2 separate regions of the Homo sapiens genome follow, and region 2 is linked to region 1. The links are contacts of gene promoters, found by promoter capture Hi-C in human tissues and cell types (Jung and others, 2019). All regions are on one chromosome and are shown on one strand. The core of a region is centred on a gene start or on the middle of the fragment in contact, and the rest is flanking DNA. Distances in the headings are between cores, read along the strand shown.

Region 1 (6,381 bases), core at 1,532-4,031:
AGATCACCAACAAACTGTGGGCCAATATACACTCACCGTCTGACTCAGCCATTCTGGTTTTAAGTATTTTCCAAGAGAATTAAAGGCTTTATGTCCATACAAAGACTTGCATATGAATGTCAAGGCAGCTTTATTCGTAAAAGTTTCAAGTGAAAATAACCAAAAATTCATGAGCAGTAGAATTGATTAAAAATTTTGAAGTATATCATATAATGAAATACTGCCCAGCAATAAAAAAGAATAAACTATTGCTACATTTAACAATGTGAGTGGATTCAAAAATAATGATGCTAAGTGAAAGAAGTCAGACAAAGAGTACCTACCGTGGAACTATATTTATGTGCAATTCTAGAAAACGCAAACAAATCTCTAGTGATAGCAGATCAATGGAGGAGGGGGTGAGGAAGAGGCAAAAGGAAGGAATTACAAAGGTACATGTGGAAATTTGGGGAAGTGATGTATAATCTTCATTTTCTTGGTTTCAGTGATGGCTTCCTGAGCATATAACACACATGCATATGTGTAAGAATATATCCAATTGAATATTTTACACATTTGTAGCTTTGTATATATTCAGCAGTATCTATTCATTCCTTCTGCTTCTTTACCTTAGGTTTAGTCATGAAACCACTGGGTTTCATGTGGTCCAGGTTCTATCTGAATCAAGCTATGAACCTGCTATCAGTAAGACCTCCTAATTGCAAACCACATGGACCTTTACCGGTTATTTGACTTCTCTCGGTCATTACCTTCTCTAGTCTCCACTGATTCACCTCCTTTTGAATCTCAACAAGCTCAACAGTATCTCAATGTTATCTTAACAAAGCTGTTAGAAATAAACAACTTGACTTTGAAACAAAGGAGAGAAATGGCTCAGCAGCTAGGAGAAGATGCAGGGTTGAGTTGCCAACAGTTGGTTTTGTTTGTATTTTGGCCAGGGGATGTGGCTTGGACTGGAGAGAAAGGAGATAAGGATGTAAGCACATGTAGGGCATATCACCCCCTATTTTTTATTCTCTGAATCCTTAACCCTCAGAATAAGTTCTTATTCTTGAGAATCAATGACATTATCTTAAGCTAAATTAATCAAGCCTCCACAGTGTTCTTCTCTCAATAGTGGTGTGGGCCTTCCTAGAAGTAATTTTTCCCAAATTCAGTGATACATTTTAAGTTCAGATTTTAATTGATATGAATCTGTGATACACTCTAAAATAAGATTATTTTATTGAAAAGTGGACTGTAACTTTCCCTTTATCTAGGAAGAGCTCTAAGTTAGAAGATGTTTTGCACTTTTACCGAAGGCTGTGTCTTGTAAGCACCCCCGAGCAACTCTGAGAGCCTTGATTTTTGTGTCCTCAGCATATGTTTGTGTAATACAGAAAGAGAAGCAGTTGCCAAGTGAAAGGGATGTTGGTCTCCAAAATTATAGTTTGATCCCACAAACACACAAACACATACATGCAAAGGATTGTTTGCTTCACGGTTTTTGATATTTAATTCAATGCTGTTGGAACAGCACAAAAACTAAGTGTCAGTTTAACAGAATCACTTGTCCTTTTAGCATTAAAATAACATGGAACTTAATGCTTTAATTTCCCAACATGCCTTTTTATTTAGAAAGATTCAGACTTATATTTCATTTAGAAATAAAATGCCATTTTATTTAGAAAGATACAGGAGCATTCATTCACGGAACTTTCAGATCTCAGTCCACTGCATAAAATCTTGATCCTGTAATAATAGTTTCTGTATCTTGCATATTCATTCAACAGGTTTAACGCGATGAGCAAATTAATGTTCATCGTTTTTAACATGTTTCATCTTAATCAGAACCCACATTCTCAACGTTAATTGAACGTACATAGGACTATACAAGGGTTAGTAAATAAGACAGAAACTGTTGTTCATTTAACCACCGTCACTTTGGACCAAAAAAGAAAAAATATATATTTTTAAAATTGAGCTTAAAAGAGTCTCTAGAAGCTGGAAGCGTGGCTCTTTTTCAGCAAACTGGGGGAATAGGTTTACCGTGTTCCCCCTCTGGGGAATTTTGAGTCGCCACACTCATGTCTCGACCGAGCCTGGCTCGCTGCGTCTGAGCGAGTACTTGAGGAAGGCTGATCTAGAAAAACCAGCTGAGAGAAGGGGCAGAAGCCCCTGAAACCACGGGCGGGGGTGGGGTGGGGAGCGCAGCTTTGGGACCCTCTAGCCGGAGACTTCCGGCAGCTGCCTCCGACTTGTTCTAAGTACAGGAAAAATCTGTGCGCCCAGTTGCCTCACTCCAACAGCGCGCAGTTGTGCCCGGCGAGGATGCCGCGCTAGTCGTGGAGATGCCCCACCACAAAGAGGATTCAGGTGCTTCCTACTCCGGCACCCAGTGGGTTGGTAGTCCTGTTGGCAGGAGACAAGAATCGTCTGGGCTGCTCCTATCTCTGGCAGGACTAGACGGGGCGTGAAGGAAAGAAGGAAAGAAGGAAAGCAGGGATCGGGCACTGCCCGAGGGCAGATACTTGGGCTTTGGTGTTGTCCAGCGCGCTCGGAGTGCGCTGCCTCGCTCACGCGGTCCCAGGCCCCGCTTCTTCAGGCAGTGCCTGGGGCGGGAGGGTTGGGGTGTGGGTGGCTCCCTAAGTCGACACTCGTGCGGCTGCGGTTCCAGCCCCCTCCCCCCGCCACTCAGGGGCGGGAAGTGGCGGGTGGGAGTCACCCAAGCGTGACTGCCCGAGGCCCCTCCTGCCGCGGCGAGGAAGCTCCATAAAAGCCCTGTCGCGACCCGCTCTCTGCACCCCATCCGCTGGCTCTCACCCCTCGGAGACGCTCGCCCGACAGCATAGTACTTGCCGCCCAGCCACGCCCGCGCGCCAGCCACCGTGAGTGCTACGACCCGTCTGTCTAGGGGTGGGAGCGAACGGGGCGCCCGCGAACTTGCTAGAGACGCAGCCTCCCGCTCTGTGGAGCCCTGGGGCCCTGGGATGATCGCGCTCCACTCCCCAGCGGACTATGCCGGCTCCGCGCCCCGACGCGGACCAGCCCTCTTGGCGGCTAAATTCCACTTGTTCCTCTGCTCCCCTCTGATTGTCCACGGCCCTTCTCCCGGGCCCTTCCCGCTGGGCGGTTCTTCTGAGTTACCTTTTAGCAGATATGGAGGGAGAACCCGGGACCGCTATCCCAAGGCAGCTGGCGGTCTCCCTGCGGGTCGCCGCCTTGAGGCCCAGGAAGCGGTGCGCGGTAGGAAGGTTTCCCCGGCAGCGCCATCGAGTGAGGAATCCCTGGAGCTCTAGAGCCCCGCGCCCTGCCACCTCCCTGGATTCTTGGGCTCCAAATCTCTTTGGAGCAATTCTGGCCCAGGGAGCAATTCTCTTTCCCCTTCCCCACCGCAGTCGTCACCCCGAGGTGATCTCTGCTGTCAGCGTTGATCCCCTGAAGCTAGGCAGACCAGAAGTAACAGAGAAGAAACTTTTCTTCCCAGACAAGAGTTTGGGCAAGAAGGGAGAAAAGTGACCCAGCAGGAAGAACTTCCAATTCGGTTTTGAATGCTAAACTGGCGGGGCCCCCACCTTGCACTCTCGCCGCGCGCTTCTTGGTCCCTGAGACTTCGAACGAAGTTGCGCGAAGTTTTCAGGTGGAGCAGAGGGGCAGGTCCCGACCGGACGGCGCCCGGAGCCCGCAAGGTGGTGCTAGCCACTCCTGGGTTCTCTCTGCGGGACTGGGACGAGAGCGGATTGGGGGTCGCGTGTGGTAGCAGGAGGAGGAGCGCGGGGGGCAGAGGAGGGAGGTGCTGCGCGTGGGTGCTCTGAATCCCCAAGCCCGTCCGTTGAGCCTTCTGTGCCTGCAGATGCTAGGTAACAAGCGACTGGGGCTGTCCGGACTGACCCTCGCCCTGTCCCTGCTCGTGTGCCTGGGTGCGCTGGCCGAGGCGTACCCCTCCAAGCCGGACAACCCGGGCGAGGACGCACCAGCGGAGGACATGGCCAGATACTACTCGGCGCTGCGACACTACATCAACCTCATCACCAGGCAGAGGTGGGTGGGACCGCGGGACCGATTCCGGGAGCGCCAGTGCCTGCACACCAGGAGATCCTGGGGATGTTAGGGAAAGGGATTGTTTCTTTTCCTTCGCTCTATCCCAGGGCAGGACAGTATCAGGCACTTAGTCAGCTCTAGGTAAATGTTTGTACAGGGCACACTCTACACAAAATGGGTACCTTCCATTTTGTGCAACTACAGTCACAGAGTCGTGATCCCCAGATTCAGGTTCCCCAGGCTGGTAGGCTGGCAATCTCCTCTCACTCACCTCTTATGGTTTGTTGTGGTTCTTACGGCAGTGGGGCCCGGTCCAGAAATCTCGAAAGTACCCAGTGAAAGGGGCAAGAATGCGCCAGAGAAATGCTGTAGGGGGAAACGCTAGCAAGGTGTCTAGGAGAAACAGAACGACCACCAAAGAAAACCAAACCAAGGAGTAAACTGCAGGGTTGCCACAGACATTGTCAGACTTTCCGGCCTGCCCAGGGCTAATTGAATGACAGTATTTAGAAAAAGACAAATAGAGCTATTTTCTTTTCTTCTTCACTGTGTTTTTTTTGCAGTCTCACTCCCATATTTGAAAATTCTAGTCCCAATAATTAGAGATTTAGCCTGAAAACAGTTTATCTAAAATGCAGAGGTCTCCCTATTTTATAGCTGGTGAATTCTGAAAAGAAAGTGCCCACTTGGTATTTCATTAAGAAGAAACTTACGTTGGTCCAGTAACTTTAGGATGAATTCAGGGATTACATGGAATCTGAGAAATTGTAAACTTTATTCTGAACATTCCGAAAGTCAAAATGAAATGCCATATTTTCACTCTCAACATTGACAATTAAGGGAAAAATCAAATCCAAACTATTTTACAAATTACATAGGATTTAAATTTTGTTTTCAAAATTGGTTGATCTTAGTTCTAAATCATTTAATATCTTATTTTAATTACTGAGATTAAATGATTTTAGTCATTTGACCGTATCTAAAGGATAAGCCCTTTAGAAGCATTAATGTTAGTTAACATGTTTAAATTATATGTTTAAAGTATTGTGGGGTTTATATATTTATTTATTTAGTCCATATTTTTACTGTTTACAAGTCAGGGAGTAGTTGGAAAGGATCCAAAAGGGGGGAAGATTTATACTTTTAAAATAAAGTTTGCTTTTTCCTGTTTCATCAAAAAGGTATTTAACATCCTAAAACACTTTTGAAAAAGCCCCAATTTATATAGAATCTGAAAAACATGAAAATGCCAGAATTAAATAGTAGTTGTTTGTGATCCCTTGAAATCTGATCATTTTAATTAGCAAAAAGCAATAATATTTTATATTCCATACTTCCCAGAAAGTTAATTGATTCAAATTCTTGCTATGTTATGCCGTCATGCAGATCAAAGAGAACTTGTACAAACAAAAAGATATTAACTGTTTTTTCTAGAAAAACCTTTGTTAGTTATTTAGCTGTAGCATAATACACAGTAGAACTCATTTTTCCGAAGATGATTGCCATAAAGCTTTACCATTTTACAAAGCTCTAGCATTTTAAAATGTTTTCCTAGGCATTCTCTCATTCAGTCGTTACCTCAAAGCTTTGAAGGGAGTATAATTATCTTCATTTCACAAATCATGAAGCTAATGACATTTCATGGAAGCTATTTTTATAGGAATTATGGAATTGGAGCCCTCCTTTGAGTGTCTTTGGATGTTGTCACCACCATCAACAGGCAGTGTTATCTCCAACATGTTTGATGAGAAAAAAACATAAAGGAAAGGGACTTGGGTTTCATGGCAAGAGATTCAGCTTAGATGGGAATGAGCTGGTCTCTGAGGCAGAGTTTCCTGTCTCATCTTTGTATAAACTCCTTCTTAGAAACCAGCAGAGGCTCTTAATGTACGTCCATCTTCTCCTTCCCACCACAGACACCCACTCCTATGTGCGTTTCTGAAAATTACAGGGTCATTTGTGGATGTGCTTTAATTTAGTATAGATATAATCTGATATCATTATCTTTCTTTCCCCCCGCCCCCCGCCACCAGCATTCCCCCTGCACTCAATTTGTGCTTATATTCCTTTTGCTGTATATATACCCCTGGCTCATTGCTTCTGGAAGCTGCATTACTTATTCTAGAGTGTGGGTCTCCTACAATTTATTTATATAGCCCCCTAAATCAGTGGTTCTCAACTGGGGGTGATTTTATGCTCCCCAGGTGTGATTTGGCAGTGTCTGGAGACATTTTTGGTTTTCACAACTGGAGGTGGGCACTGCTGGTACCTAGGTGTATAGATGCCAAGGAGGCTGCTAAATATCCTACCATGCCCAGGACAGCCCCCATTACACAGAATAGCCAGTCCCAGAGAAACTCA
Region 2 (6,019 bases), core at 54-2,553, 210 kb after region 1:
GAAGGGGCTCAGAATCAAGGCTAAACAGAAAAGATCCTGTGTGAATAGAATTTCAGAGCTCAGATCAAGGTGAAGCTTGTGAAAAATGCTGATATTTGTAGTTGTACATGGAAGATGGGAACAAAAGAAAGTTAAAGGGGAAAAAAACTAATGTTTTTGAGCACTTACTGTATGTCAGGTATTTTACATAGATGACTCAATTGTGAAAAAAAGAAAAAAAGAAGGGTAAGGATACAGATGGTCAAGTCCTTTGTTTGAGGTCATTAATATAACCTTAATAGAGGGAATCTTCTTCCTGTAAACTAGAGAAATTGTAATGTTTTATCTGACACTTACAGGCTGAGTAGAATATAAATGGAGGCCACTTAATCGTATGTCTAAATATTTAGAAGTTATAAGTCGAGCTTGGCTCATGCCCAGCTCATGTTTCCACCCAAGGCCCCACAGCCATCCCAGAGAATCACCCTTGAAATGCAAAGGCTAAAAAAGCCATCCTCTTTCCTGGATGGGAGCACTGATATGCTGGGATAGGGGCAAGATGGAAACTGCTCCTGGGCCCAGGAGCCCAGGGCGGGCACTAGGATAGGGACAAGCCTGGTCATCTGGTCATTATCACCATAGAGAGCCCCAGGCTAATTCCCTTGGCTGCCTTGCTTTTCCAACAGAAGCAGTTCAAAAGGCTTCCCAAAATTACTCCTCAAAAAAGTGCAGTCAGCTGAGAAACCCAGCCTGCCCAGACACCTACTCTGGGGTATTTGGGGTGGTCAACATTAAACACAGCAGCCCAGCTCTTTGCCAGATTTCTAGACAGAGGCTATGATTTTCTTCTAACTACTACCCCGTCGTACTGAGATGGGGGCGTTTCCTTATCTCTCTCACAGGGCATGTGACAGGGGTGTGGCTAGCTTCCCACCTGGCTGCTCAAACCCTAGGGGGAGCATGCAGATGGGCAGGTGCAGAGGCCATGGAGAGTGCTTTTGGGCTCTGGCCCCACAGCAGCATCTAGGACTCCTGAAGCCCAAGTGGGCACGTGTTACAGTATGCTCTTTCAGCTATACCATCTGCAGATGGCTTGTGTTAGTCAGCTTAATAGACCCTCTGCCTTATCACAAGGACAGGTGGCCAGTGTGACAGCCTGAGTTCTTGCCCAGTGTACCAGAAGAATCAGATCACATGTGGGCTGAAAGGCTGAGTGCAAGGTTTTATTGTGTGGTGGAGGTGGCAGATAGATGGGGAGATATATGGGGAGCTGGAAGGGGTATGGAGTGGGAAGGTGGTGTTCCCCTGGAGTTTGGCCACCCAGTGGCCAGACTCTTCTCCAACCATCCCCGGCCTAACTTTCTTGGGCGTCTGTGTCGTTCCACTGTTGCTGGTCTGCCAGTGTCTGCCGGTGTCTGCTGGTGTCTGCTGATGTGTTCCTCTGCTCTTCTCAATGTTCAGCCACTTGTGTCTGTGCCTGCTTAAGGTCTCAGGTTTATATGAGCACAGGATGGAGGGCATGGTGGGCCAAAAAGCAACTTTTTGAGCACAAAAACAGGAATGCTTGTCCCCACTTAGGTCCGTGGGCACAGGCCCACGGGTGGAGCCCTTACCAGGGCTCTCTACCCAGCACTTCCCTGCCACCCCCCATATCGTTACCCACTAAGTACCCCATCATGTGCTCATCCCAGCATCCTCCATCCTCCTGTGAGGCTGGAGTAGGGTCCAGTTCCCACATGTGTCCCTTTACCAAAATTTCCATTTGATCAGTTATCCAATTTTCAAAAAAATCTATAAAACATAAAGAAAAAAAGTATTTCTCTATCAATGTTTGTCATACGTAGAGCCCTCTAAAACCTGTGACCAGGGCAGATGCCCTTATTGCTAGATGTAATAGTGGTAGCATTTGTATCTATACACCTCTTAAAATGTAGCATGCAAAGTTGAAAACAGCATATAAATATAATTTGACCAAGGCAGAATATATTGGGGCTATTACTTTCCATGATCTTGGCACTGTTCTAGCTGTGCAGCCCAAGATTATTAGCTTTTTAAACAGTCACATCATATTGTTGGCTCATATTAAATTAAGAATTAATTTGAACTCTTAGGTTGCTTTCACAGGCGCTTCTACCAAGCCAATTCTCTCCCATTCTATAATTGATGGTTTTGAATCTAAATGCAGGATTTTACATATATTACTATTACATCTTCACTTATTAGTTTTGAATTTTTTTAAGTCATTTGTAGTGTTTGCCATCACTCCTATGCTTCTATCATGGGAAAAATCAGTAAGCTATTCTGTATCTTCATTCAGGTATTTGATTAAAGTGGTAAGTAGGGAAAACAGCAGGTATAGAATCAATGACGGAAGCTTAGAGACAGCAGGTTTCAACCGAGCTGTTTTGAAATGTTATTTCTAACAATTAGTTTTCTATCAATGGAATGGACTTCTTGGGAAGATGTGAGAAGAATTCAAGCAAAAGCCAAATGAGGCTCAGCAGAGGCCATAGAAAGAATTTTTGGATATGTAGACGTCTAAGGACACTTCCAATTCTAAGATTCCATAACTTGATGATTCTAAATTCCAGAGTTATGAGAGAATAGCTTGGCATTCCTCAAGCCCATGTTGGATTGCTATAGGAAACCTTTCAGTGCCCACAGACTAATGCAATGATTATTTTTTAAGATCCCTGCTCCACTCTGTCCCTTTCATTGTTCTTACCATAGCCCACCTTTTTCTATACAGTAGCTGTTGGCCTAAGGGCCTCATTTCATCATAAGCTCCTTGCATTCAAGAACTACATTTTATTTATCTTTATTTCTCTTGTACCTGTAGAACCCAATTTGTACTTAGTGGGTATAATACTAAATTGCAGGTAGGAAACAAGGGAGTGGTTTGGAGTTTGAATCCAGGAGACAGATAGAGCTCCAGGTGCAAAGGGATCTTAGCACTCCCTGAGTAGGTGCTCCATGAAGGCAGAGGCCATGCCCATCTTGTCCTACTCCTCAGCAACCAGCAGAGTGTTTCACATGGTACACACTCTGTGAAATGTTTGTAGAATGAAGGTTGAGTCGACAAGTTTTCTGAGAAGTAATTAACTTTAATTCATTTTCTGAGTAAGTGCTATAGGAGTTAAGAAGAAATTATTTAGGCAGATAGTAAGGGTAAGGAAGTCCTTAGTAAGGTTTTCCTTTTAATGAAAAGCAGCCCCAAAATCATTTTGTTTTCTAACAAAGAGCAGCTTGTAAAATCGAGCTGCACTTGCATGGGTGAATGCCAGCAGCTGTGCTAACAGGAAAGGGCTACCTGGGGGCCACGCATGTCCAATATGGAGGCTCCATCTTCCCCTTTCCTTGTCAACCGCATGCACAGTAAGGAGCAGGCTACATAGCACCGGCCAAGCAGAGACTCCACTTGCATAATAAAAGATTAGGGTGGGGTGGCCGGCTTCCTTGTGCACTATGTAAATGTCATACCTGGCCCAGTCAATCTTTGGGCCCTACGTAAATCAGACACTGCCTCCTCAAGCCTGTCTATAAAACCCTGTGCACTCGCCATGGGCCAGAAGTCCCACTCAGGCGCCCCTCTCTCTCAAGGAGAGAGAGCTGTTCTCCTTTCTCTTTCTTTTGCCTATTAAACCTCTGCTCTTAACCTCACTCCACATGTGTCCGTGTCCTTGATTTCCTTGGCATGAGGCAACAAACCTCGGGTATTTACCCCGGACAACGAGGCCACTTCAGTAGGGCAGGAAGAGGCGAGAGAACATGAGAAGAACTGAATCTGACTCGGTTTAAAAGCACAAACTGGACAGCAAGGCCTCAGTTGTCCTAATTGTTCTAGGAACTCACCCCCAAACCAGTCTCAAGACTTTCCACCTGAGAATAATTCTCTGACCTGAGAGCCTCCTGGTGTCTAACATCTTCCACCTATCACCTTTTGAGTCATACTTCTGTTTTAGAGTAGGCTTGCCAGATTTAGCCAACAAGCAAATATCCAGGATACCCAGTTAAATTTGTATTCTAGGTAAACAAAAATATTTTTTCAAGGTAACTGTGTTTTACGCCATCTCTGAGGCATGCTTATCTTATACTAAAAATAAAAAACTGTTATTATGTGAAATTCAAATTTAACTCGGTGACCTGTATTTTATCTGGCAATCCTATTTGGGAGGCACACTTCGCACTTGCTTTTCATAGAAATTGCCTTTTCTTAAACTGTCACTGGGCCCATGTCCTCAGTCTCATCCCCTTGCACAGCGTTAAATGCAGGCTGGGGATTATTATGGAAGTAACATCAAATGTCGAAATGCTATTTATTAGCCATCACACTGTAGGTCATAAAACTTGTCATCCAATTTAGTACTTGCCCCCATGTTAGAGGGCTAACAGAAAGAAATTGAGTTCCTTTCCTCGGTTTTCACAACAAGTCATTGTCAGAGCCAGAATTATAATCTAAGATTCTGAATTTGGAGGTTCTCTAAATTATATTGCCTCTCTGTGGGAGACTATATTCTCTTTTGCAGTTCTTCCTCTCTTAAAAGTCTTAAAATTGGGCCAGGCATGGTGGCTCACACCTGTAACCCCAGCACTTTGGGAGGCTGAGGCGGGTGGATCACCTGAGGACAGGAGTTCCAGACCAGCCTGACCAACATGGTGAAACCCTATCTCTACTGAAAATACAAAAATTAGCCAGACATGGTGGCACACACCTGTAATCCCAGCTACTCAAGAAGCTGAGGTGGGAGAATCACTTGAACCTGGGAGGCAGAAGTTGCAGTGAGCCCAGATAGTGCCACTGCACTCCAGCCTGGGCAACAGAGAGAGACTCCATCTCAAAAAAAAAAAAAGTATTGAAATTACTTGACAATCCCCTGGGTATATAGCTGAGGGGTTGGGGGAGGGAAGAGCAATGGCATTTGAAAAAGGAAAGCATCTGTTACACATGAGCTTTCCAGAAGGCCACTGCTGTGACCTAAGGCACCTAAATCCGGTTGGAGTCCACTTTGGCATCAGAAGGCTAACTCCAAAATGCTCCTTTAAACAGCACCTGAGGCAAGAGAACAAATACAAGTGACTTCCTCGTGGCCTGTTTGTGCATATCTCTGTGTTGTTCAAGGCCTGAGAAGATTACAAAGGGGGAAAAAAGAAAAGAAGGAACAACAAGCTGGCTGGCTGATTTTTTTTAACCTCTAAGTCCCTTACACACTTTAAGTGACATTCACAAATGGCATAATTTTTGAAAGTTGTTTTTGTGCTGAAAGATTGGATGTTTGATGCCTCAACCCTGTGGTTCTCCCTCCAGCCCAGCCAGGATTCAAAACATCTTTCAGTAAAACCATCTGTTATTTAAAACATTCTTGTGTCTTAAAATATACAAAACTCAAGACCTAACTGCTCATCGAAACCCCAAACACACTCTTTTGGGGCTGGGTTCCTCACAGAGAGCGATTCATAAAACCTTGCTTATTATTTGGAAACAGGTCTGAAGTTTGTCCAATTTTATCCTTTTTGTGGTTCATCATTCTAAAATATTTTGGTGTGGCAACAGGTTATTAGCTTCTTAAACTTCTAGCTGTAATATTGTGCAGAATCCATTTCATTTCATAGCAAAGCAGGAGAGACATAACTTCCAGATGAAGGTAATAGCCGTGCGCATATAGAATTGAACCAGTTTTTCTTTGTCAAAAACTGTGCCACAATTGTCTGAATTACAATCCTGCTTGAAACCTGTTGGAGACCCAGGACATGAAAAATGTCTAGGAATTTTACCGAAAGATCAAGCCATGAGCACACATCTTCTGTGTTATTAAGTATTTGACAACAGGTACCAACCATAGTGACAAGCCCCAAAAGTGTATTTTTTAGGGTGAAATATTTTAATGACTTTGGAATAGACTGGTCTGGAAATATCTTCTTCCTATAACTGCCAAGGTACACGGACAAACTCAATATTATGGTATAACGATGACAGCAGCATTTTAAAGCCTTGGCTGACATCTTTGCTTTTCCACCAGGCAGGCAGCCCAGGTGACAGAAG

What was found. The method cuts DNA at HindIII sites, captures the fragments that hold promoters and counts their contacts. A contact is called where the count stands out against the background at its distance.
Region 2: a fragment that was not itself captured here is called in contact with the fragment with the promoter of NPY in region 1 in 1 of the 25 tissues and cell types used here (H1 embryonic stem cells).

The regions. Positions count from the first base shown.
Region 1 is chr7:24,281,409-24,287,789 of GRCh38, forward strand. It overlaps NPY (neuropeptide Y), which reads left to right and starts at 2,782. Exons shown (of 4, transcript NM_000905.4): 1 at 2,782-2,867; 2 at 3,833-4,020. The coding sequence starts at 3,833. The region is part of intron 2 of LOC107986777 (a long non-coding RNA gene); the gene reads right to left. The HindIII fragment of the contact is 14,633 bases long and covers 1-6,381 here.
Region 2 is chr7:24,493,687-24,499,705 of GRCh38, forward strand. No RefSeq gene overlaps it. Among named protein-coding and RNA genes, the nearest start is that of PALS2, 77 kb to the right of the region's middle. The HindIII fragment of the contact is 5,765 bases long and covers 1-4,186 here.